6 separate regions of the Homo sapiens genome follow, and all the other regions are linked to region 6. Evidence: promoter capture Hi-C in human tissues and cell types (Jung and others, 2019). All regions are on one chromosome and are shown on one strand. Each heading gives the region's core, a stretch centred on a gene start or on the middle of the fragment in contact. The rest is flanking DNA. Distances are from core to core; before and after follow the strand shown.

Region 1 (3,127 bases), core at 1-2,500, 330 kb after region 6:
AGCAGGACTCTCTGTTATAGAAACCACCAGCTTTGTGTCTCCTAAGTGGGTTCCCCAGGTGAGCCCTAGCCCTCAATGAAAGGCCTTTCTCTAGGGATGAAAAGTTTTGCATTTGCCTTTGAAGCAAGTAGAAGTTGAGAACATAGGTTTCCAAGCCCCTGGCTTTGAGAGGTCTCAGGTGATTCATAGCACTGTGTTGCAGCAAAAGAACATGACCCAGGATTCAGGGCCTTGGGTTCAGTCTTGGCTCTGCTCTGACTTGCTCAGTGACATTGCTAAGGCCTTCCCCTCCTCAGTGTTAGAGATGACCTCTTCTAGCCCTAAAGTCTAAAACCCTCTATGCCTGTCTGTGGTTTCTTTGTTTGTAAAAGAGGAAGACTGACAACTCCTGCTTCACAAAGATAGTTAAGTGAAGAAGAAACATCCTGTTACAAAGGAGTGCTTAACACAGAGCTGAGCTCAGTGCCTGGCCCAGAGTACATTCTCAATAAATGGCTGGTAGTAGTATTCCTGCTGTTTCTGCATATGTAAAGCTGGCAGTATGGGCCATATGGAGAAATTGGGATCTCAGCCAAACCAAGGGCCCTTCTGAGCCATCAGCAGTCAAACAAACAGTAAAAGTATTGGAGAGACTCAGCTCTGCAGAAGGAATTACTCGCTAAGAGTTCTGGAGAACAGAGGTTTTGTGATGAAAAGGTTTTCTCTAACTGAACTCTCTGTCTGCTCTTGGTGATGACTTGGCAATGTCTCCCTTGGTTCCTAGATGGGTGACCACACTGAAGTCTTGAAGGGCATTCAGAAGTTTCCTGGCATCAACTACCCAGTCCTGACCCCAAATTTGAAAGGCTTCGAGGCAGCGGTAAGAGGATAGCTTGTTGGTGGGGGCTCCTGAAATGAGATTGATGGCATTGGTCCCTGCCTTGTCTTGGCGCCTCAGTCCCCTGTCCTGGGATGTCCATCTGAATAGCTTGTCTGTCAGCCAGACCCTGGGGCAAACCTGGCCCTGCCACTCACTGCTCTGTGATCTTGACAAGTTGACAAGCCTATAAAATAGGGCTAAATGATAGTACCTGAAGTTGTGAGCATTTCAGAAGATAGGATGCATGTACATTGCTTAGCAAGAGCCAGATAAAAGGTAACTGCTTAATAAATGTTAGCTCTTTTGATTATCCACTTCTTTAGAGAAATGTAACCAAACTCTCCACAAGAGTTTCAACAGTAGTTGCTGGCATCTGCCAACTTTCTTACAATTTTAGACAAGAACATCTTTGGAGGCGTTGGTTCTGTATTTAGGCAAAAACCTTTTTTTGGCTGGGCACAGTGGCTCACACCTATAATCCCAGCACTTTGGGAGGCTGAGGCCGGAGAACAGCTTGAGGCCAGAAGCTTGAGACCAGCCTGAGCAACATAAGGAGACCTTGTCTCTACAAAAAAAAAAAAAAAAATCAATTAGCTGGCTGTGATGGCATGCACCTGTAGTCCTAGCTACTCGGGAGACTGAGGCACAGGATGGCTTGAGACTAGGAGTTCGAGGCTGCAGTGAGCCATGATAATACCGCTGCACTCTTCCAGCCTGGGTGACACAGCAAGAAAAAAAAAAAAGCTTTTTCTCAAGAGTGACTTCCAGGGTGGTGATGGCAGTGGTGGTGGTTTCCTTGGGGAAAATCAAAGTTTTTTTTTTTTTAATTAAGAGAAATTACTGTGTTTGTTTCCTAGTGCTACTGTAAGAAAGCACTACAGGCCGGGCGCGGTGGCTCACGCCTGTAATCCTAGCACTTTGGGAGACCAGGGCGGGCGGATCATGAGGTCAGGAGATCGAGACCATCCTGGCTAACACGATGAAACCCCGTCTCTACTAAAAATACAAAAAATTAGCCAGGCTTGGTGGCAGGTACCTGTAATCCTAGCTACTCAGGAGGCTGAGGCAGGAGAATCACTTGAACCCGGAAGGCGGAGGTTGCAGTGAGCCAAGATCATGCCACTGCATTCCAGCCTGGGTGACAGAGCAAGACTTTGTCTCAAAAAAAGAAAAAAGAAAAAAAAAAAGAAAGCACTACAAATTGGGTGGCTTAAAAACAACAGAAATTTATTCTCTCACAGTCTGGAGGCCAGAAGTCCCAAATCAAGGTGTCAGCAGGATTGGTTCCTTCTGAGGCCTCTGGGAGAATCTGTCCTATGCCTCTCTGCTGGGGTCTGGTGGTGGCCAGCAGTCCTTGGCATTGCCTGGCTTGTAGATGCATCTCTCCAGTCTTTGCCTCCGTTTTCCCAGGGCCACCTTTTCTGTGTCTCTGTGTCTTCACTTGGCCATCTTTTGTTTTTGTTTTTTTTAGACAGAGTCTTGCTCTGTCGCCCAGGCTGGAGTACAGTGGCATGATCTCGGCTCACTGCAAGCTCCACCTCCCAGGTTCAAGTGATTCTCCCACCTCAGCCTCCCGAGTAGCTGGGACTACAGGCGTGTGCCACCACGACCGGCTAATTTTTTGTATTTTTAGTAGAGATGGGGTTTCACTGTGTTAGCCAGGATGGTCTCGATCTCCTGACCTCATGATCTGCCCGCCTCGGCCTCCCAAAGTGCTGTGATTACAAGCGTGAGCCACTGCGCCCGGCTGGCCATCTTTTTTTAAGGTCACCAGTCGTATGGGATTAGGGGCCCACCCTATTCCAGTATGGCTTCATCTTAACTAATGATATCTGCAATGACGCTGTTTCCAAATAAGGTCACATTCTGAGGTGCTGGGTTTTAATCCTTCAACATATATTTTTAGGAGGACACAATTCAACCCATAACATTCACATAACATAAAATTTACCTTAAGAGAAATTTTTTGCTACTCTGTGTCAGTGTTCTTTAAAGAGAAAAGTGCTGGCCGGGCATGATGGCTGACACCTGTAATCTCAGCACTTTGGGAGGCTGAGGTGGGTGGATCACAAGGTCAGGAGTTCGAAACCAGCCTGACCAACATGGTGAAACGCTGTCTCTACTAAAAATACAAAAATTAGCCGGGCGTGGTGGTGGGCTCCTGTAATCCCAGCTACTCAGGAGGCTGAGGCAGGAGAATCGCTTGAACCCAGGAGGTGGAGGTTGCAGTGAGCCGAGATCATGCCACTGCACTCCAGCCTGGGCAAC
Region 2 (4,655 bases), core at 1,410-3,909, 310 kb before region 6:
AAAGGAAAAATTAATATGCAGTTCTAGCCTCAAGCTGATTCAGGAGCTATCTCTTCCACAGCACCCATCCCTCTAAAAGGAAAAGAAAAAATAGATGACAAAATCTAGTTTTACCTTTGAATCAGAATGAATCCCTAAGCTCTGATAGGTTTTGCATGGATCTTTTCAGGGCTCAATCGCTGGGGCATGCTCTACTACTACCGTCTCTGAAACAAACTAACTCACCTCATCCTCACTCTACTTTATTCTTCCTCATTGGAATTGTTATTGCCCAAACTTACATGACCTATGAATTTGGCTAGTTGTTTAGTGCTATTTTCTCCCTTTAGATTGGAGGCTCCTGGAGCACAGGAGTTTGCCTCCGGTCAGCAGGGACCCAGCTCCCCAGAGCCACTGATGGAGACAGAACAACCTCAGCCAGTCTCAAGCAACTTCTGTGCCCAGCGGCTACAGCTCTGCAAACAAAACCCACATTTCCATTTGGTGCTTCTTGGTGGTGGCAAAACTCAATCATCCAGATGCCAACTTACCAAGTAACGCCACCAAGAGAAGAATCACGACAATGTTGTTGGCGTTCTTCTCCTTGTAGAAGTAGAGCAGCAAGCAGAACAGAATGATCTCCACCAGCTGTGGAAGGCAGCAAGCAGGGGGGTCAGTGGGGACCACAGAAGTAGGCGAGACCGGGAGACCCTGGTGGGCTGGGCCATCACCAGAGTCACAGGGTTGAAAGGGAATGACTGAGCTATGATTCAGCATTTCCCAAACTACTGTTAGACGTTCAGGGGAAAAGGGAAACACAGAGTGAATCTCTCTAATCCCTGGCTAGTACTGAGAAGGAATTCCCTGTTGTCCTGAGGCTGAAGCTTTGAGGGTGACGTGCTGCTCTCATATCCACTCTTTCTTGGAGGGCCAAGATGCATCAGGCTGAGATGGTTTCTTCCCACTCCACTGCTCCATGGGCATCCCCATTAAAACAATGGGTTGGTCCAAGAGGGAGACACTTGTTCACCAACCTATTTGGTCAAGAATGTGAGGCCAGGCACGGTGGCTCACACCTGTAACCCTAGCACTTTGGGAGGCCAAGGCGGGTGGATCACCTGAAGTCAGGAGTTCGAGACCAGCCTGGCCAACATGGTGAAACCCGGTCTCTACTAAAAATACAAAAAAAAAAAAAAAAAAAATTAGCTGGGCGTGGTGGCATCTGCCTATAATCCCAGCTACTCAGGAGGCTGAGGCAGGAGAATTGCTGAGATCACGCCACTGCACTCCATCCTGGGAGACAGAGCGAGGCTCCATCTCAAAAAAATAAATAAATACATAAATAAAGAATATGAGTATATACTCCCTGTGCTCCCAGCCAAGCTTCCAGTGTGAAGCTTCACAGAGTAGAATGAGGAAGGCCTTTGGAGTCAGGGAGACCTGGGCTGGAACTTAGGTCTGCCTCTAAACTAGTCGTGTGGCCTTGGGTAAGTCACTTAACTTCTCTAAACCTTAGTTAACCCTCTGTGGAGTAGGGTTAAGAATTCTTTTTATGGGCCCATAATCATAGCTTACACTAAATGACGTCTCCTTGTACGCCAGGCAGTGTTCTAAGCATTTTATCTACGTTAAACTCACTAAATCAGCACAATAACTCTACGAAGCAGGTACTACCACGATGGCGTGGCACAGAGGAATTTAAACCTGGACAGTCTGGCTCCCAGGCCCATGCACTTTCCTGCTAGGCCACACTGTCTGGTGCTCTATCAGTAGAAACTTACCACTAGACGATGGCAAGTCCGAGTTTGAGAAGCTCCCCCTCCTTGCATCAACAACTGTTCCTTTCTACCCCTTAAAAGCCCAGATATTTGCTAACACTTTCCCAAGAAGTTAAGCCAGCCCTAGCGCCCAGTGCAACTAAAGCAGAAAACTTTGACAACAGCTTAGTCTCATTTGCCTATCCCAAACCCCTTATCAAAGCTGATTTAGTATAAAAAAAACCCAGAAACATTAATGGGCATTTTGAAACATTTAAAACATTCCTTCTAATTAGAGACCATAAAACACAGCTGCTTTCATTTCCCCGTTTCTTCTTTGTCTTTGTTCCAGTGAATCCATATTTTAACGAGTTGTCATTATAGTCAATGCACGATTTTGTACTGGGCTGTTTTTAGTTACCATAAACAATCTTCATGTTTTGTGAAGTTGTCATAATTATCTTTAATTGCTGCAGAATACTTCATCAAGTGGATGTGCTGTCAATCATCAACATTCCCAACCACTGTGCCTGCATTTGAGGGGTCCCAATTCTTCAGCCATTCTCCATGATTTTTTTTTTCTTTTTCTTTTTTTGAGACAGGGTCTCACTGTGTCACTCAGGCTGGAGTGCAGTACTGTGATCATGGCTTACTGCAGCTTTGACCTCCAGGGCTCAAAGCTATCCTCCCACCTTAGCCTCCTTAGTAGCTGGTAATACAGGCATGCATCACCACACCTGGCTAATTTTTACTTTTTTTTTTCCAAATAGAGACGGGGTTTTGCCACATTGCCCACACTGGTCTCAAGTTCCTGGGCTCAAGCAATCCTCCTACCTCGGCCTCCCAAAGTGCTGAGATTATAGGTGTGAGCCACCACATGTGGCCCGTTCTCCATGATTCTAAAATGAACACTGGAATAGCACTGGACATTATATCATGAGATGGCTGTGCATATGTGGTGCCTCCCAACAGTCCGTGAGTACTGTGGGCATGTCTCATTTATTTTTTATAACCATAGTGTCTAGCACACAGCAGACGCTCAATAAATATTGACTGAATTTGGTTTGGCCAAATCTCTCCAGCTGGCAGCACTGCCTCCCAGTCATGATGAAGTAAGACAACAGAATCATTCACTGAGCATCTACCACCTTCTGGGTGACTTAAATGCTACTTCCTGGATCTCCCAATAGCAATTTTAAGTCCAGAGATTCTTGCCACTTTACAGAGAGGGAAACAGAGAAGGAAAGCGACTTGGCTAAGGCCACACAGCACTTAGGAAGTCTTGGGCTTCAATCCTCTGAGTGAAAGGCCTGTTCTGGGGTAACGCTTTGCCCAAGGAGGCGGTCTTTTGCTCTGTCACCAACTACATGCTGGGGCTGGCTGCCTGTTGGGAAATGACACAGCCCCCATTTCAGGGGAAGTGATCCTCTGCCTTGTGGATAATCTGAGGAAAAAGGATGTTCCAGGGCCTCTAGACTCAATCAGAGACCAGGCTGTTTATGTCAGAGGAAAACAGTGAACACCTTTGTCGGCAGGCCACGGGGAAGGAAGATGGCACCTGAGGCCAGGTGGGCCCGGCCTTCAAATCCAACCCTGCTTTTATGAACTCTGAGCAGGTCAGCTAACCTCTCAGAGCCCTGGTTTTCTCACCCATAAAATGGGAAGAACATTTACTTTACAGGGTTAAGAGAATCTGAGATGATACATAAAAATGTGTTTAGCACAGCGCAGGGCATGGAACAAGAACGTACCAGTAGCTTTATCACATACTTTAGATGTTTTCCTTAATCAGTTGATTTATAGACTTAAAATGGGATAGAACTGGGGCAGAGGACTGAGCTCTGGCGGAGGGGTTAGGAGACAAAATTTCCCGTGTCTCCTGGGCTTCTATCAGCAGTGTGATACTGGGAAAAAAAATAAAATAACATTCTTAAATGGTTTACAGTTTTAACTTTTTCTTCCCCTTACCATAAAAGTTTGAAATGGTTACTGTAGAAATTTTGGACAATTCATAAAGATGAAGAGGAAATAAGAACTGAGTCATAACACTATCTCCCAGAGCCAACTACTGATGGAATTTGCTTTCCCATCCAGGCCTTCCTAGGTATATTACATGACCACATACCTATACACACCTCTAAAAAATAAAACTGACATCATAATGGTTTTGATATTACTGTGTGGGGCACAGTGGCAGTTCATTCGTTCTCATTGTGTACAGTGATCCACTGTGTGAATACAACACAATTTATCCATTCTACTGCTGGGGGGCACTTGAGGAGTCTCCAGCCTGGAGTTATAAAAAATAATGTTGCTGTGAACATTCTCATACATGTCATTTGAGAAACACATGTATGCATTTCTGTTGAGTATAAAATGAGGGGTGGAATTCCTCCATAGGATATGTGGATATTCAATTTGGTAATTAGTGTCAAATGTTTTTCCCAAGTGGCTGTACCAATTTACACTCCCACCAGTAGAGTTTTGATATTACATAAATGAAACAAGCATTTCGCCATGAGCTGTGTACTCTCCAGAAGCACGGTCTTTCATGCTGGTAAAATGTGCCGCAACTCACGGAATCCCCTATTGCTGGGTATTCACGTTTCTGGTTTCTAGGACTTGATCTCCCTCCTGCCATCTCAGGGGGAACGACTGGAGGCTTCTCTTACCATGTACAAAAGGAAAGGCCAGCTCACGAGGTGCCTGGTGACATTCTCGCCTGTCATCTTCTCGTGACTGTTGGGTGCGAATGTCACCAGCAGGTAGGTACCCACGACAGCCAAACCGCAGCCAACAAAGGACAAGACGTAGCGCCCTGCGGGGAAGAGAGGCTGTCACGGACTCATTGCAACAACAGGCCCAAGATACAGTACACGTTCTCAGCCATGAAAAAACAGGCTTCTCCTGCAACATACC
Region 3 (4,498 bases), core at 1,206-3,705, 360 kb before region 6:
TCCAGCCTGGGCAACAGAAGGAGATCTCAAAAAAAAGAAAAAAAAAAAAAAAAAAAAAGAAAAAAGAGAAAAAAAAAAACAAAGCAACAACAAAAAGCCACTTAGGATCGTCAATGCGAAGTTCTGAACGGCTATCACGAAGCCCTACCTTCTATTCTCTACTCATTTACCACTTACAGGTAGAACTGTACTATTTTTTAGTAGCTGTGTGTAAGAAAAATTTCGTGCGACAGTAAAGTAAAACGGGTGAAAATTTGATTTTTGTATTTTGTATGTTTCAATGACCCATGTCTTGTTTTCACAGATAACCTAGAATTGGTCCTGTTATAATTGAAGTTCCACTCCACCAGGAATTTGTCAGCAAGAGACAGATAGAAATAAACAACAAAAACCAGCCTACAAAACATATGAAAACAACAGGTTTTAAAGAATAACTGAAGTTGAGATATATAAGACTGATGCTATTTGTTGTGCTGTGTATAATTTCTTTTCCCTGGATAGAACCTCTACATTCTAGGGGAAAAGTGGAGATTGCTGTCCGACCTCCACCTTCTGTGTTTTTTTTCTAAGTAACAAACGGTGTTGAACTTTAGAGCTTCCATTATTTCACAGGCTTCAGGCTAATGGATTTCCGCGTCACACTATTTTTCATGCTTTAAGTCCTTCAACCAACAACTCTAACACCATATAAAATCTGCTCTTGTCTGTTACCTAATGTTCACATGTTTGAAACCTTTACAAACGTTATATTTCAACAGCAGGAAAAATCTTGTTTCCTAGAAAAGCACTGAAATCTGTTTTCAGGCTAAGAGAGAAAAGGTTTGGCTGGGTGCGGTGGCTCATGCCTGTAATCTCAGCACTTTGGGAGGCAGAGGTGGGCGGATGGCTTGAGCCCAGGAGTTCAAGAACAGCCTGGGCAACATAGTGACACCCAATCTCTACAAAAAATTAGCCGGCATCTGTAGTCCCAGCTACTCAGGACGCTGAGAGGTGGGAGGATCGCTTGATCCTGGGAAGTTGAGGCTGCAGTGAGCTGTGTTTGCACCACTGCACTTCAGCTGGATGACAGAGCGAGGCCTTGTCTCAAAAAGAAGAAAAGAGAAGAGAAGAGAAAAGAAAAGGCAAGGCTTGCCAATGCAGTAAAATGTAAAGCTGATGACCTGGCTAAAGAAGAGACTCAGTTTTCAAGCTTTTCACAGTCTTCCTGGATGGAAAGCCCATTTCTAGATCAATTTAAATCCCCACCAAAAAGAACACATTTGTGTGATGCATATCTGGCTCCTGAATTATGTGTTTACAGAGTTTAAGATATTGAACCAAAGCCAATGAAATAGTCTTAAAACAAATTACTTTACATCGTATGTAATCACAGCTACAGATAAATCAATTGCTTCTTTTGCCAAATAGTACATCAGAGACTTCTATGAAAAGTTCAAATAAATGTGGTGTACTTGGTGGCTTCCAACAAGTGGAAGCGAATATTTTTGGCTTTCAGCACTACAGGAAAACATCACTTTAAATAATCCTTGTTTGTATCTGAAACACGGATCTGGATTGCTTCCTACACTAGAATCCTAATCTCTAAAGGAGATGATCAGATTTTGCACGGAAGCTAGAAGAATCAACCTGGAACAGATCACTCCTGCCCTACCTGTCCAGGCGGCGGACAGAAGCAGACAGACAAGTTTCAAGAAGTTAGGGAGTCACTAATGCGATGGTGATCCACGCACCGTGGGGGAAGCGGGGCAAGGGAGAAAGACAGGGGGCTTCCACCTTCCAGGCGCCCCTACACCGCTCCTGCCTTCACAGGCAGGCTGGGCCTGTCGGCTTTTCAAAAGGTCAAACACACTTGGTGGGAGAAAATCGTTGGTGGAGAAGACAAAACATTTTTGTTTTGTTTTCCGGGACACCACCCTCGAGGCTGCCAGACTAGACCCCGCGCGCGAGAAGGGTGCGGCGGGAGGCGAGGTCGCGGGAGGCGAGGTCGCGCGCGGTAGCATCTCCCGGTCCCGCGGCTCGGAGTGCCCACCCCTCCCGGACTTCTCGGGGCGGCTTTTTTTTTTTTTTTTTTTTTTTTAACTTTTCATGCACCACCCCCCCCACCCGCCCCGCCCCGCCCCGCCCCGCGCTGGGTGCAAACCTGCTGGAGAGGCCGGGCGCCGTGGGGCCTCACCTGCACGCCCCGCCGCCGCAGGACGGGAGCCGGGAGGGCAGCGGACGGGCCCGGGCTGCCCGACGGGGCTGCGGGGAGCCGGACGGCGCGAGCTGCGGGGCCTCTGGGAGCCTGGTGGGCGGCGGGCGGGGCCGAAGGCAGAGCCGGGAGCCGCCTGCAGCAGCAGCCTCGCCGCCACGCCCTCGACGCCGGCGAGAGCGGCCCCCTGGGCTGGGACTAGGGCGGTGTCCCGGCTGAGCTAGGCTGCCGGCGCCGCGCGCCCGCCTCGTCCCCTCCTGTTCTGGCAGGGCGCGCGCACGGCGGCGCAGGCGCCAGAGCCCAGGACAAGGCGGGGACCCGGGCGGGGACCGGGGCGGGGGCGCGCGGGGGCCGGGGTGGGGGTGTCTCGCCGCGCGCGCCCTCCTCCCGCTCCTCCGGGTTCCTGGTCCCCAGCCTGTGGGGGGCTTGGGCTGTAGCGCTGGGGCGGGGGCTTTAGATCACCCCGAAAACAGGACCTCTGGCGACCTTCTCGTTTTCCACCGGGAGCGGAGAGAGCCGATCTCCTTTTCCTGCTAGCCCCGTAGGACAGTCCCCGGAGCAGCTCATAGGAATATGACGAACGTTTACTCAGGGCTGGTTACTATGTACACTGCGCCCCGCGCGCGGCGAGTTTACCTCGGTTCACCTCCCGGCAACCGGCGGCCCGGATATTATCAGATGCTGTGGGCTTCCCGGCGCCTCATTGCCCGAGGAGAGGCGGCCGCAGGTAGCTGAGCTGGAGCTAGCACAAGGTGTGGGACGGCACAGGCTGGGTCCCGCCCTGGCGGGTACAACCCTCTTCCCCTTACCCACTCCTTCCCCTCCCCTCCCATCCCCTCCCCTCCTCTCCTCCCCACTCGTGCTCTTCTCCCTCCTCCCGCTCTCCCTCCTCCTCTTACTCCTCTTCACCCTATGCCCTATCTACCGTTGTCATACAATCCACATGTTTAATGCTTTCTTTTTCGTGTAAAAACCCTTCCACGCAGTCTTGCTTGTCTCCGACGCCTTAGGAGACCATGGGACATGATTACAACTATTACGCAAAGGGAAGAGCCGGGGTCTAAGCTGTTGAGCGAGTTTCAGTGATAGGACCGAGGCTTACATTGGCAGGTATTATTACCACCAATAACAACTATGATGACAAAGCTCCTGAGCCCAACTTGGAAGGCAGCTGGTGTCTCTTCCCTTAGCCGGCAGAGAAGGAAGCAGGGTCACACAGCAGGGAAAATAACTGGGCTCATCTCCCACCTACAAGGACGCGCAGTCACGCAGTGGTGCGCACCCGTAGTCCCAGCTAACTCAGGAGGCAGAGGTGGGAGGATCGGTTGAGGCCAGGAGTCTGAGACCAGCCTGGACAGCATAGCAAGACTCCGTCTCAAAAAAAAAAAAAAAAAGGAATGTGCAGTTAGAAGAAAATCAGCTCTCATTACCCACTCAAGACCTTTCAGAGGCAAAGTGAGGCACAGTGAAGCTTAACATCAAAGGCACTCAGCGCCTGCATCATGGGGCAGGAAGATGGACTAAAATGTGTACAGCACATCTAATCCCTGTTAGATGTAAACTAAGAAATCAGGGTTGGATTATGACCCCAAGGGCTCCCCAGCAGTTGAGCCCAGCATAGTCACCGAGGTATGTCCAGCAGATCGCCCCTCCTACTTCCTGCTTGCTGCTTCTGTGGTTCCTGCTGCCTCCAACCGTGCTGCTCCTGCTCCCCATCTTGTCTTAAACTAAGTTCTTCACTTTCATTCGTTTAACTAATATTGATGGCAAGCTGCTTCTTTTGTCAAGGTCACTCTAAGGACTATAGTAATTATTTTTTCTCTAAATTCCTCTAACACAGCAACTTTTGCAAAAATTGAGGGTTGTTTTTTTTTTTTTTTTTGGTGTTTTTTTGTTTGTTTTGAGATGGGTCTGCTCTGTTGCCTAGGTTGGAGTGCAGTGGCACAATCATAGCCTCAACCATCCAGGCTCAAGTGATCCTCCCATCTCAGCCTCCTGAGTAGTTGGGACTACAGGCACATGCCACCATGCCTGGCTAATTTTTCTACTTTTTGTAGAGACAAGGTTTCACAATGTTGCCCAGGCTGGTCTCAAACTCCTGAACTCAAGCAATCCTCCTGCCTTGGCTTCCCAGAGTGCTGGGATTATAGGCGTGAGCCATTGCACCTGGCCAAAAAATTGAGTTTTCACATCAAATGAGATTGGAAACAGCTGCATTCCATAGCCCTGCCTGGAGATGTCTGATGCACGTTCACACAAAAAAAATGGCCCTGAGAGATCCTAAGTCAAACAACCAGATTAGCTTAA
Region 4 (4,192 bases), core at 1,137-3,636, 270 kb after region 6:
CTGTCCACTCTACATCAGTGCCTCTCACCTGTCCCTGCAGGTTCACATTTTGGTTATGTGGATAAGGAGAAATAAATTGAAGATCACAATGTCCCATTTTATCTTCCCCAAGACAAGCTCTGTAACATTAAAGACCACTATGCAAACCGATTACTAGAAAATGTGTGTGGATGGGTTCGGTTTTTTTCCTAAGGTGTTCATGCTTACTGTTTTGGGCAATATTTCAACATAATCTGGCAGAAAAAGAAACAGAAGATAAAGAAAATAGCTGTAGGCCGGGTGCAGTGGCTCATGCCTGTAATCCCAGCACTTTGGAAGGCTGAGGCTGGCGGATCACTTGAGGTCAGGAGTTCGAGACCAGCCTGGCCAACACGGCGAAACCCCATCTGTATTAAAAATACAAAAATTAGCCAGGCGTGGTGGCGTACCTGTAAACCCAGCTACTCGGGAGGCTGAGGCAGGAGAATGGCTTGAACCCAGGAGGTGGAGGTTGCAGTGAGCTGAGATTGCAGCACTGCATTCCAGCCTGGGCGACAGAGCAAGACTGCATCTCAAAAGAAAAGAAAAGAAAAAAGAAAAGAAAAGAAAAGAAAACAGCTGTGATTCAGCAATAGTCATTTTCTCTCCTTGTCACTGCCAGAGTGAGGAAGTGCTGGGTTCTGTCAACATAGGCTCTGACTTCTCATGAGGTGCAAGAAAGAAGCAGCATGAACAAAGGCATAGATTTTGCACCTGGAGACACGTATTCTAGTCCCACCTCTGACTCAAACTAGCTGCATGATCTTGGGCAGCCCCCCAGCCCTCTCTGGGCTTCAGTTCCCTCCTCGGTACAATGGGAAGGGTAGGGAAGAGGATGGTGCCTAGGATCTTCAAAGTCCCAACTCTGATGTGCTGCCATTCTCTCACTGGCATGTGGGAACTGAGTGTGCTACGTGGAGTCATGAGACTTCTTCTTCCTTTTCTTTTTCTTTTTTTTTTTTTTTTTTTTTGAGACCGAGTCTCACTCTGTCGCCCAGGCTGGAGTGCAGTGGTGCGATCTCGGCTCACTGTAACCTCCACCTCCCGAGTTCAAGCAATTCTCCTGCCTCAGCCTCCTGAGTAGCTGGGATTACAGGCGCACCCCATGCCCGGCTAATTTTTGTATTTTTAGTAGAGATGGGGTTTCACCATGTTGGCCAGGCTGGTCTCAAACTCCCGACCTCAGGTGATCTGCCCACCTCGGCCTCCCAAAGTGCTGGGATTACAGGCGTGAGCCACCTTGTCTGTTCAGAGACTTCTGACTTCCGTATTTCCCTCGCTAATGGCCTCACCTCCCGTTTGAGTATGTGCAGCATGTGCAAATTGCAGAGGAACTGGGGAACTTCCCTGCCAGGCAATCCTGGGTCCTCTTGGCTCTCCACTTCCTCCTTCCTTCCTTCCTTCCTCCTTCCTTCCTTCCTTCCTTCCTTTCTTTCTTCCTTGGTCTGGCTCTGTCGCCCAGGGGCTGGAGTGCAGTGGCGGTATCTCGGTACAAACTAAGCTATTTGAAATGCCTCGGAATTCCCAAAGAAAGCTCAGTAAATACCAGACAGATGAAACGGTCCTGCCCGCTCTCCCTCTTTCAGTACCCAGTTTTCTCTTTCCTCTCCTTTCATAACGTTTCTTCCCATCATCCCTCTACCTCCTTATTTCTGTCAGGGCTGTTAGATACCCTTCCGGTCTGTTATCTCCTCCTCCAGCCTTGTGCTACAGGACAACTCAAAAGCCCCCTATGGCTCCCAAGTGATCACTAAATAAAACTCGTGATCTCACTTCAGCCTACCCCTGCAGGATTGCTGCGGCAAAATGGACTACTCCCAGAGGCGTGATCACGGTTCGGTTCACTGCAGCCCAGACTTCCCGGGCTCAAGCGATCCCGAACCTCCCACCTCAGCCTCTCGAGTAGCTGGGACTCCAGACGTGCACCACTACGCCAGGCTCATTTTGTTTATTTTTTATAGAGACAGGCTAGTCTCCAACTTGTGGGCTCAGAGCGATCCTCCCGCCTCGACTTCCGAAAGTGTTAGGATTACAGGCGTGAGCCACTGCGTCCGGCTCAATGGACTCCTTCTTAAATGTGAGTTCTCCGCACACACTGGGCCTTGCTCACCTCCACGATTTAACCTCGCAGTTAAGTCCCTTTTCAAGGTTTTTATTCGTCCTTCAGCGAAGCGCTGTCAACGCCTCCCTGCGTCTTTCCCTTCTTGAGCACCAGAGGGCGCTCCTCCGACCCGAGGAGGAAGCGACTCGGGCCAACCTGTCCAGGTTGTCCCACCCCTTTTTCCTTCCGGGCCAATCGTTAGTCAGAGTGGGCGGAGCCGCCCGCGGGCACCTGCGCGTTAAGAGTGGGCCGCGTCGCTGAGGGGTAGCGATGCGGGCTCCGGGGATGAGGTCGCGGCCGGCGGGTCCCGCGCTGTTGCTGCTGCTGCTCTTCCTCGGAGCGGCCGAGTCGGTGCGTCGGGCCCAGCCTCCGCGCCGCTACACCCCAGACTGGCCGAGCCTGGATTCTCGGCCGCTGCCGGCCTGGTTCGACGAAGCCAAGTTCGGGGTGTTCATCCACTGGGGCGTGTTCTCGGTGCCCGCCTGGGGCAGCGAGTGGTTCTGGTGGCACTGGCAGGGCGAGGGGCGGCCGCAGTACCAGCGCTTCATGCGCGACAACTACCCGCCCGGCTTCAGCTACGCCGACTTCGGACCGCAGTTCACTGCGCGCTTCTTCCACCCGGAGGAGTGGGCCGACCTCTTCCAGGCCGCGGGCGCCAAGTGAGTGTGGTCCCGGGGAGCGGCGCCCCTTCCCGGCTCGGGCGGCAAACAGGAGGTGGGGCTGGGCGGCCAGCTGGGGCGCGCAGCTGCCGGTCGCCCCCATGACCCCGGGGCCCGCGTGTGGCCTCCTGCGGCCACAGGAGTGAGCCTGGCACACCTGATGAGGAGGAGGAGGTGCGTTTGACTGGGGACTGATAAATGAAGGTTCAGGGAGATGGCAGGCTGGGAAGCCCTGGGTATCTGCACCTGTGCACCGAGAGGGCTGAGTTAGGCCATACCTGATGTCCCTTTCAGATTGACAGCACTATCAGGACTCCAGGGTTTCAAATCAGTGGTGTGGAGCCTGGTTCTAATTCAACTGTGAACCTGGACATGTCACTTCAGCCTCCCTGCAGCCTCTTCTATGGTTGTAGAAAGGGGTTATATAAGGATACAACCCTTTGAGCCCTAATGTCTCTAAGAGGGAAAGAGAGGGGAGTTCTGGTGTGCAGTGTATTTGGGCAACAGTACAGATAGTCATTCGTTTGCTCCTCTCAATCCCTTTTACGTAGGAAGTGTCCAGGAAGGGTCTGACTCTCTCTGAGAACTGTTGGAACTTGGGGGTGGCTGGTTCAGAGAACAGAGTAGAGAGCGCTGGGGTGGGGATAAGGGGAGACCACGACCCATGAAGTTGTCAAGGCAGGGGCTTGTCCTGAAGGAGTGAGCCTTGAGAGCCCTGTATTGACAGATGTTAAGTCAGGGAGTGGTTACTATCAGCTTCTAGAAAGATTCATTCGGCTGCTGGGAGAGAAGTGGGTTGGAGAAGAGTAAAAATGGAGGCGGGGAGGTTTCCCCAGCCCCTGGCTTAGAGCAGTCTTCCATCCTTACCTTGGTTCCTCAGCCATCTTCCGGGTTTTCGTTTCTCTTGAACTTTGAATTCACTTGTACTAAAGAGAAGTTACAACTGGCATTTAGTGTTTGCCATTAAATGTATGGGAGTATAAGACTTGATTAAGCAGAGGAAGTGTTTGTCTCCTAGGGGCCTTAGGGATCCATAACTTACAAGTGAGAAAAATTAAAATCTGGGAGATAACCTCTTTCCATGCCTTTTATTTCATGGATGAGATGACTGGCCCAAAGAGAGGAAGGAATATAATGTCCTAGACTCCAGGTCTCATGACGTCAAGGTTGTTTCCACTGCACCAGGGTCTGCAAACTGGCCAGAGGGATTGGTCCTCTGCCAGTTTTTTAAGGCCCATGAGGTGAGAATGGTTTTTACATTTTTAAAGGGTTGTAAAATGTTTTAAAGAAGAATACACTACAGAGAGGAATGTGCTCCCACAGAGCCTAAAATACTATCTGGCCCTTCAAATCCTGGAGTTCCCTACTCTGGCCAATGATTGAACCATAAAGTGCATTACCTATTTTTGTGCCA
Region 5 (4,642 bases), core at 269-2,768, 260 kb before region 6:
TTGGTCAACCATCCACATTGGTGAGATCCCCAGTGTCCCAGCTCATGTGCTCCCTTTGGTTTTGCTAGTGTTCGCCAACTAGTGTTCTGGTTCGTTAGTGTGGCTTAGGAATTATTGCTGAGACAGGAAACCTCATTTTGAGATCCCCCTAGGCTCCAGCGCTTTTTCTTTCGAGGCTGTTACCACCTCCCTGGTGGGCTTCCAGAGTCGCTGCTGCTCTCAAATCCAGAGAGATCTCTCTTTCTTCCTCCTATCCTCTGATTTTGCACTCTCTTTTTCTTTAACATTTCTTTAAATTGAAGCATAAATATATATTCAGAAAAAGTGCACAAATCCTAATTGTATAGCTTAATGAATATTCACAAAGAAAACACCACCTATGGAATAACTTCTCAGACCAAGACAGAATGTCAGCAGCATCTCAAAAGCCCTTGTCCCTTCTCAGATATTATCTCCCTTCCCTGCAAAAGTAAACACTACGGTTATCCTGACTTCTCATATCATTAATAACTTTAGTTTGTTTTTGAATGTTATGTAAATGTGAATCATACAATATGAGCTCTTTTCTCTCAGGCTTATGTTTCAGAGATTTAACTTCATGTTGGTTTGTCTTATCTATGAGTAATTTGTTCATTTTATTACTCTTGTTTGAATACACCACAATTTATTTATCTATTCTACTACTGAAGGACATTTAGGTTGTTTCCAGTTTGGGGCTATTATGAATAAAAACTTCTGTAACTATTCTTGTACTTGTCTTGTGGGACACATATTTATGTATTTCATGGGTCTATACCTGAGGAGTGGAACTGCTGGGTCATAGGGTATGTTTAGGGTAAGCTTAGTTGATATTGCCAAACAGTTTTCCAAAGTAGCTGTGCCAATTTTACCTCCTTACAAGCAATGTATGTGAATTCCAGCTGCTCCAAATCCTCACCAACATTTTAAGCTCATAATAGTTTTAATTTGCATTGCCTGAGATCAATGAGATTGAGCACTTTTTCATGTTGACTGGCCTTTTGGATATTCTCTTTGGAGAAGTGACTGTTCAACTTTTTTGCCCATTTTCTTCTGCTGGGTCTTGTCTTGTCTTTTCTTTTTTTTATTTATAGGAGTTCTTTAAACCATTCTGTCCTTTTCTTATTTATAGGGATTCTTTATTCTAGAAACAAGTCATTTGTTAGCTGTAGGTAAATGTCATCCCTTATCCTGGGACTTTCCTTTTCACTCTCTTAACAATGTGCTAAGACACAGAAACTCTTGATTTTAATATAGCCCAATTTATCAGTCTCTTTATGTTTAGTGTACATGTCTATTTTATTAATACTTAAGAAATCTTTGCCCATCCCAAGATAGTTTCTTCTAGAAACTCTATTATTTTACCTTTTACATCTAGATCTACAATTCACTTGAAATTGTTTTTGATTGAGGAAGATGCCCGAGTCTGTTGTTTTCCATGTTGACCCAGCACCATTTATTGAAAGGCTGCTCATTCTCTACTACTCTGTATTGCTGTTGCTACCTTTGTCATAAATCAAGTGTCCAGGCATATGCAGCTCTGCTTCTTGATTATTTATTCTGTTCAAATATCATACTGTCCTAATTACTGTAACTTTATAATAACTCTTTAGTAGCATAAGCCCTTCAACTTTGTACTTCTTTGTTTATGCTGGCTATTCTTGACCCCAGTGCATTTCCATATAAATTTATTTTACTTTTTTATTTTTAATTTTTATGGATACATAATAGTTGTACATATTTATGGTGCACACATGATATTTTGATACAAGAATATAATGTGCGATGATCAAATCTGGGTAGCTATACAAATTTTACAATCAGCTTATTAATGTCTTAAAAAAACTCTACTCTCATTTTAATTTGGATTGCATTGATTCTAGAAATCAATTTAAGGATAATTTACATCTTTACAATAAATATTAACTTCTCTAATCCATGTATAGATCCTTTTATTTAAGTTACCTTAAATTGTTCTCAATGTTTTGGAGTTTTCTATGTAGAAGTCTTGCATATCTTCATTATATCTATTGTAGGCATTTGATTTTTATGCTGTTATAAATGGTAATTTTAAATTTTATTTTAAATTGTTTGTTGCTGCTGTACAAAAAAATTAATTGATTTTTGTATATTGACCTTGATTCTGGTGACCTCACTAAATCCAACTATTACCTCTTATAGGGTGTCCACAGATTATTTTGCAATTTCCCCATACACAATCTTGTAATCTGTGAAAATGACAACTTTATTTCTTCCTTTCTCATCCATATATTTTATGTATTTTTAATATATTTTATGTAGGCGTTTGTATTGGCTAGAGACCTTCAGTACAACGTTGAATAGAAGGATAATAGCAGTTGTACTAGTTTCACTCCCTGTCTCAAGGGAAAGCCTTTAATATTTCACAATTTGGTATCCTGTTTGCTATAGGCTTTTGTTATAGACACCTTTTATCAGATTAACAAAGTTTGCTCCTATTCCTAGTTTGCTAGAGTTTTTCTTTTAATCATCAAAGGATATTAGATCTTATGAAAAGCTTTTTCTGTATCTACTAAACAGTTACTTCACCAAAAAAAAGATATACAGAGGGAAAATAGCATATGAAGGACTGCTTAGCATCATTAGTCATTAGGGAAATGCAAATTAAAACCATAATGAGATACCATTACATACCTAATGGGATGCCTGAGATTAAAAAGACTTCCCATTGCTGATAAGAATGTGAAGTCATAGAAATTTTCATACGCTAATAGTGGGGATGTGCAAAAGTACAACGACTATGAAAAATAGTTTGACAGTTTTTTAAAAAGTTAAACATATGATCTAGTCATTCCACTCCTAGGCATTTACCCCGCAAAATGAAAGCTTATGTCCATTTAAAGACTTGTAGATAAAATGCTCATAGCAGTTTTATTTGTAATGCCCCCAAACTGGCGACAACTCAAATTTACATCACCAGTGAATAAACATCATGTTTTTATACAATGGAATATTACTCAACAATAAAAAGCAATGGAGTATTGATATATCAGCAACAGAGATGAATCTCATAGTAATTATGCTGAGTGAAAGAAGCCAGACAAAAAGAGTACATGTTACAGGTATATGATTTTTTTAATCTGTTGAGATACTCGTATGGTTTTTCTTTTTTAGTCCGTTAATATGATGAATTATATTGATTTTTAAATATTAAACTATTTTTGCATTACTGGGGTTGGTCACGATGTATTATCTTTTTATATATTGTCTGGTTTGATTCGCTAAAATTTTTCTAAGGATTTATGTATTTATGTTTATGAGGGCTGCTGACCTCTAGTGATCTTTTTCCCTCTTGTAATGATGCCATATAGTTTTGGTATCAGGTAGTGGTTGCCTCATTGAATGAGTTTGGAAATGTCTTTTCCTCTTCAGTTTTCTGGGACAGCTTGTATGGAATTGATAGGTGGAGTGTTCTATAAATGCCAATTAGGTCAGGTTAGGTAATAGTTTTGTTCAGGTTTCATATATCTTTACTGATCTATCTACTTGTTTAAATTATCGAGGGAGATGTTTTGAGATCTCTGACTATAATTGTGAAATTTTCTATTTTTTCTCGCAGTTTTATCAGTTTCTGCTTCTTATATTTTCAATCTCTTTTTATTGGGTACATCAGCATTTAGGACTGTTATGTTCTCTTGAGGAGCTGACTGCTCATAATGACCCCATTATGAAATGACCCTCTTTATTGCAGGTAATATTTTTTGCTCTGAAATCTACTTTATCTGATAATATCTAACTATCTTTTGATTAGTGTTAGCATAGTAAATCTTTTTCCATTATTTTACTTTTAACTTATTTCTGAGTTTATATTTCAAGTATGTTTCTCCAAGGTAACATATAGTTGGGTCTTTCTTTCTTATCCAATCTGAGAATCTCTGTTTTTTAATTGGGATATTTAGATTATTTACATTTAATGTGATTATTGGTGTATAAGTTTAAGTCTATCATCTTGTGACTTGCTTTCTATTCGTCCCATCTGTTCTTTATTTACCTTTTCTCTGTCTCTTGTATTATTTTTAATGCTTCAATTTTATCTCCTTTGTTAGCCTATTAGGAATAACTCCTTGTAGTATTTTCCTAGTGGTTACCTTAAAGCAACAGTTGGCAAACTTTGCTCCTTGGACCAAATCTGACCCACTGCCTATTTCTATTAATAAAGTTTTATTGGAACACGGCCACCCCAGTTTGTTTATGTATTGTCTGTGGCTGCTTTTACTCCATAATGGCAGCACTGAATAGTTGCCACAGAGAATAAATAGACTGCAAAGACTAAAATATTTACTATCTAGCCAGGCATGGTGGCTCACACTTGCAATCCCAGAACTTTGGGAGGCTGAGGCAGGAGGATTGCTTAAGCCCAGGAGGTCAAGGCTGCAATGAACTATGACTGCACCACTGCACTCCAACCTGGGCAACAGAGCAAGACCCTGTCTCAAAATATAGATCAATAAGATAGATAGATGATAGATAGATAGATAGATAGATAGATAGCTATAGATGGATAGATAGATAGACAGATATGTACTATCTGGCCCTTAGAAAAAGTTCGTTGATCCCTACATACTTTAGAGTTTATAGTATATAT
Region 6 (4,774 bases), core at 2,240-4,739:
TGCAACCTCCGCCGGGAGTCTAGGGACCCTAGACTCCCTGCTTCTCCTGCCTCATTCTTCCAGATTCTTCCTCATTCTTCCTGATTCTCCCTCATTCTTCCTGATTCTCCTGCCTCAGCCTCCCGAGAAGATGGGACTACAGGTGTGCATCATCATGCCTGGCTAATTTTTGTATTTTTAGTAGAGACAAGGTTTCACCATGTTGGCCAGGCTGGTCTCGAACTCTTGGCCTCAAGTGATCAGCCCATCTCAGCCTCCCAAAGTACTGGAATTACAGGCATGAGCCATGGCGCCTGGCCTCCTTTCCATTCTTGAACATGTAACACAGCTGAAGTATCATAGTGGACAATGCCAAAATGCAGGCCAGACCACATATTCTGGAAGGACTTTGTTTTTAAGTTCGTTTGTTTTTTGAGACAAGGTGTCACTCTGTTGCCCAGGCTGAGTGCTGTGGTGCAGTCATGGCTCACCGCAGCCTTGATCTCCTGGGCTCAAGCAATTCCCTGCCTCAGGCTCCCAAGTAGCTGGGACTACAGGCATGTGCCACCACACCTGGCTAATTTTTTATTATTTATAGAGACAGTGTCTCACTATGTTGCCCAGGCTGGCTTTAAACTCCTGGACTCAAGCGATACTCCCTCCTTGGCCTTCCAAAATGCCGGGATTACAGGCATGAGCCACGGTGCCTGGCCTCTGGAAGGACTTTCAAAGTGAGATGTTATGGGCTGGAGTTATCAAGAAGGGCCATATCGCAGAAGAAAACTGTCTTGGTGAGATTCGAGGAAAAGGGAATTGGCTAAGGGAGTGGAAATGGCATTCCAGGAGGAGGATAGAGCCCCAACAAAGGCTTGTCTTTAATGCCGATTTGTTATGTTTAGTAACCTTGCTTTCCCTTAATATAAATTAGTGTATTTCCTATATTAACTTTAGGAAATGCAGATAAGCAAAGGGAAGAAAAGAAAAATCACCTACAATTCCACTACCACCCAGAGATAACGCCCCTAGTGTTTTCATCTATATCCATGAAGACACGCAGTTTGCTCTGCGTGTGCAGGTGTGCGTTTTAGCCAGGGTGGTACTGTACATAGGTTATGTTATGCCTCTTTTCACTTGAAAAAATATGATGAGTCTTTACCAGGTCACGAAACATTTTTCTCCAGCATTATTTTGGAAGCTGCATTTGTCTTGCTTTGGGTGGACATACCATTATTCTTTTAACCAAACCTCTATTGTCAGACATGGAGGTTGTTTTCATTTTTTTCTCCTTTTTTTTTTTTTTTTTTTTTTTTTTGAGACGGAGTCTCGCTCTGTCGCCCAGGCAGGAGTGCAATGGTGCGGTCTCGGTTCACTGCAACTTCCACATCCTGGGCTCAAGCAATTCTCCTGCTTCAGCCTCCCGAGCAGCTGGGATTACAGGTGCCCGCCACCATGTCCGGCTAATTTTTGTATTTTTAGTAGAGACAGGGTTTCGCCATGCTGCCCAGGCTGGTCTCGAACTCCTGATCTCAGGTGATCTGCCCACCTTGGCCTCCCAAAGTGCGAGATTACAGGCATGAGCCACCACGCCCCACCTATTTTTTTCTTAAACTGTTAGAAATGAAGTCTGGGTGTTCCCACATTCCTTAGCAATCCAGGTGTCTTCCTTCCCGTTAATTCCTACATAACCACAGGCCCTCGAAACTACAGGATGCCCTTTTCCTCCATCAAGTTCCTTCTTCCAGTGCTTCTGAGAGGCCCCAAGGAACACTTTCGTGTTCCACAGACCTGTTGGGGCTGCGTCTTGTCCTCTCGGCCAGCCACTTGGGACCAAAGCCTGCTCTTCTCCCTAAGCGTCCCTTGTAACCTGTTTTTCTCGCTGTAGCTTCCCCACACTGCCTTGTCATCAAAGTCATCAAAAACCCTCTATCCATCATGGTTCATTCAGTAGCACAGAAACCTCTCCAGTCTTTCAGACCAAGGGACTTTAATGTAAAGGAGCTCGTCACCCAGAGGATGAAGGAGCTGGGACACTAATCAGGACAGACAGTTCAGAGATTTCCCCAAAGCAGGAAGCTGTGCCATCCCACCAACTGAAAGGAAAGATGAGGGGAGAAGGTGTTGCCAGAGCCAGGAGCTGGCCTCCAAACAGGAACAAGAAAGACATAAGGGGTTGCCTGGCTGATGGACTGTCCAGAGGGAGCCAGAACTGCAGAGGGATATGGCCATTGCTGGGGAAGCCACTCAAACAGAAAACGAGGGGAGAAATGCTCTGATCTCTGCCTCCCCAGTCTTCCCCCAGGGGCTAAACCTATCAGAAAGCAGTTGATAAAGGAGTCTAGAAAATGTAGTTTCCTGCAGTTTCAGGAAATGACTGGCATGGGCCCTACCTTAATTCCTCCAAAGCACAGCTTAGATTTGGCTGTTTTGTCAAACAAACTTTAGCAATCAGGGCTGATAACAATTACAATTCAGGAAAGAAAAACTTAAACACCGATCTCAGCATATCACAGCCCATTACACCCAACCCGTTGGCAGGATCCCTGCTAAAATTTCGCTTGCCTTTGTGTGCTTGGGGCCAGGCAAACTCTCCCCAGGGGCAGGACCCTCCAATCGTGTCCACCCTGACCAGAGTCCAGGCCCCAGGGCCCTTCTACCTTCTCCAGGCCCTGCAGGAAGGAGAAAACCATTTCCTAAACACCTGTCCCTTCATTCACACGAAGCTCATGTGCAGATCCTGCCCTACGTGGCAAAATGATGGGAGAGCAGCCTGAATCTTCATCGTCCCGAACCAAAGCCCCATTCATGAAGTTCAGCCCCATCTCTAGCACAGCAGAAAGAATCACTGAAGTTTGAGTTCCATTTTTTTTCTAAACTTTTGCAGATCCTAGACCCAAAGGCTCAAGGTAAGAGCGGCTGGGCTTCCTCACCCCCAACGGCCTCTCTAGGGGAGAGCTGTTCCCAAGCCCACCCCAAGCGTGGGGACCTGCCTTGATATGGAGGATCAAGGAGGAGCATCGGGTGCCCTCAATCTCCTCCTGCCAGAAAAGCAAAGGAGTCACAGCTTTTCCTTTGCTGCAAGAAACATTCTGGGACCTTTTTTTTCCCCCTCTGTTGTCCAGTTATTTTCATCAGGGTAAATCCCCTAGGAATAGAATTATTAAAGCAAAAGATATGTATGTGGTGTAGGCTTTTGATCCACAGTGCCAAATTGCTTTTTGATAAGGCTGCATATCGTGGATTATTCTTGCCTTTTCTGCCCCTCAGCTCCTTGATAAACCACTTGGGATGAATCAGCCACCGGACCAGATAAACAAGCCAGCCTGTTACTATTGCTGTTTTCTGCAAGTCGGAAGGGAACTCCCTTAGATCCCGCCCAGAACCTGGAATTCCAGAGCACACAGGGCCAGGACACCTTTGTACCCCTGCTCCCCACCGGCACAGGTCCCACCCACCCCCTTCTCCCCGCCCCATGCCCGGGTGGAGCCAGCTGCCAGGGCGCCAAGACTCCCAGCCCTCTCTCTGTGCACGGCAGAGTAGAGGCCAAGGGAGGGCTCTGTGCCAGCCCCGATGAGGACGCTGCTGACCATCTTGACTGTGGGATCCCTGGCTGGTGAGTGCCCATCTACCCTGTGGTCAGACCTCCCTTATCCCAGGGGCCAACGATCAGGGTCATCTCCCCAGCACCCTCCCCAGCCCGAGCATAGCCAGTTTCAGTTTCTCCCCTGCTAGGGCTGAGCAGGGTGCCGGGTGTTCACGGAGAAGCAAATGCCCAGCTTAGTTTGCTGGGGGCATGAGAGGGTGCCTCAGACCCTGGGTTCTTCCAGGGACCCAAAGGACCCTCGGGTCTTGAGGGATATAGCCAGCTGTCTGAACTGGGGGTGCTGGATCGCTGCACCTCAGTGAATGGAGAATTGGCCTGGAGGAGGCAGACATCCTTCGGTCCCTCAAACGGTGTCGGCACAGTTTGTACCATCCTTCCTCTGCCTCTCACTTGGCACTGGCCTGACAGGGGAGGAGGAGGAAGGACCGGGGGAAACGAAGCTTGAGTTCACTATTGCCTCCCTCCATGCCCCTGCAGGGCCTCTTTGGCCCCTTTTGTTATCATAGATCTGAAAGAGCATTTTCTCCTAGAGTGGCCAGGTCTGCTACATTAATAGGTCTTAAGACACAGGACTCATTTGGAAACAGGTCTTAAGGGCATAGTGTTCAAAGCCAATAAAGTGAGCGGAGTGGGGGGCTCATCATTATGGAGAACGTTACATGAGACCCTAGACTCTCTCTCTGCTCTCCTGGTGCATTGCATGAAATTCAGGGAACTTCCTTAGGAAGTCAAAGCATAGTCCTGATTGAGGATGGCGAGCAGGTATGGCCTCGGCCAGGCCCTCCTTGCTCAAGTGCAGGACGAGGCCCACGAAAAGGCAGAGCTTCCCACCTTCTCTGCCACTGTCCCGCCAGGGCTGCCTGCGTCTCCAGGGCTTCCAGCTCTGTGGGACCCCCTCCAGTCTGCTTCCCAGCATCAAGCTGGGCGTTCCAGGAAGATGTGAGGCACCCCCTTGAGGCACCAAGACACGTCCCTTTAGACCCTCAGCCATACTGGTTAGAAATCCTAGAGGCTCCCAGCCCTTTGAGATGGGGGACCCCAAGAAATAGCCCTTAGGAGATTGTCAAGGGTCAGCTGCCTCGCGCTGCACACACCGGGCCCTCACCCCCCCAATCTTAGGCTGACTCCAGAGCATGTGGAATTGTTTCTTGTTTGTGTATTTTTCCTTAGCTTCCCAGCTGGTTGACAGAACAT

The links. Contacts are between HindIII fragments. The study calls those that stand out against the background at their distance.
Region 1: a fragment that was not itself captured here is called in contact with the fragment with the promoter of IL22RA1 in region 6 in 1 of the 25 tissues and cell types used here (mesenchymal stem cells).
Region 2: a fragment that was not itself captured here is called in contact with the fragment with the promoter of IL22RA1 in region 6 in 1 of the 25 tissues and cell types used here (adrenal gland).
Region 3: a contact is called between the fragment with the promoter of RCAN3 here and the fragment with the promoter of IL22RA1 in region 6, in 2 of the 25 tissues and cell types used here (IMR-90 fibroblasts and heart left ventricle).
Region 4: the fragment with the promoter of FUCA1 here is called in contact with the fragment with the promoter of IL22RA1 in region 6 in 2 of the 25 tissues and cell types used here (IMR-90 fibroblasts and pancreas).
Region 5: a fragment that was not itself captured here is called in contact with the fragment with the promoter of IL22RA1 in region 6 in 7 of the 25 tissues and cell types used here (IMR-90 fibroblasts, bladder, heart right ventricle and 4 more).

What each region holds. Positions count from the first base shown.
Region 1 is chr1:23,814,407-23,817,533 of GRCh38, reverse strand. It overlaps HMGCL (3-hydroxy-3-methylglutaryl-CoA lyase), which reads left to right. Exons shown (of 9, transcript NM_000191.3): 3 at 1-58; 4 at 764-859. Among named protein-coding and RNA genes, the nearest start is that of HMGCL, 9.5 kb to the left of the region's middle. The HindIII fragment of the contact is 3,794 bases long and covers 1-3,127 here.
Region 2 is chr1:24,449,380-24,454,034 of GRCh38, reverse strand. NIPAL3 (NIPA like domain containing 3) reads right to left here. Exons shown (of 12, transcript NM_020448.5): 6 at 4,409-4,554; 7 at 531-627. Among named protein-coding and RNA genes, the nearest start is that of NIPAL3, 36 kb to the right of the region's middle. The HindIII fragment of the contact is 3,091 bases long and covers 1,114-4,204 here.
Region 3 is chr1:24,500,793-24,505,290 of GRCh38, reverse strand. It overlaps RCAN3 (RCAN family member 3), which reads right to left and starts at 2,455. Exons shown (of 5, transcript NM_013441.4): 1 at 2,141-2,455. It overlaps RCAN3AS (RCAN3 antisense RNA), which reads left to right and starts at 2,909. Exons shown (of 2, transcript NR_144360.1): 1 at 2,909-2,943. RefSeq lists silencers at 406-606, 2,113-2,612, 2,894-3,066 and an enhancer at 3,670-3,769. The HindIII fragment of the contact is 6,582 bases long and covers 1-4,498 here.
Region 4 is chr1:23,866,484-23,870,675 of GRCh38, reverse strand. FUCA1 (alpha-L-fucosidase 1) reads left to right here and starts at 2,386. Exons shown (of 8, transcript NM_000147.5): 1 at 2,386-2,778. The coding sequence starts at 2,390. CNR2 (cannabinoid receptor 2) reads left to right here. Exons shown (of 2, transcript NM_001841.3): 2 at 1-161. RefSeq lists a silencer at 2,755-2,974. The HindIII fragment of the contact is 22,530 bases long and covers 1-4,192 here.
Region 5 is chr1:24,396,177-24,400,818 of GRCh38, reverse strand. The region is part of intron 2 of STPG1 (sperm tail PG-rich repeat containing 1); the gene reads left to right. Among named protein-coding and RNA genes, the nearest start is that of STPG1, 15 kb to the left of the region's middle. The HindIII fragment of the contact is 6,357 bases long and covers 1-4,642 here.
Region 6 is chr1:24,141,855-24,146,628 of GRCh38, reverse strand. It overlaps IL22RA1 (interleukin 22 receptor subunit alpha 1), which reads left to right and starts at 3,489. Exons shown (of 7, transcript NM_021258.4): 1 at 3,489-3,589. The coding sequence starts at 3,547. The HindIII fragment of the contact is 7,521 bases long and covers 1-4,774 here.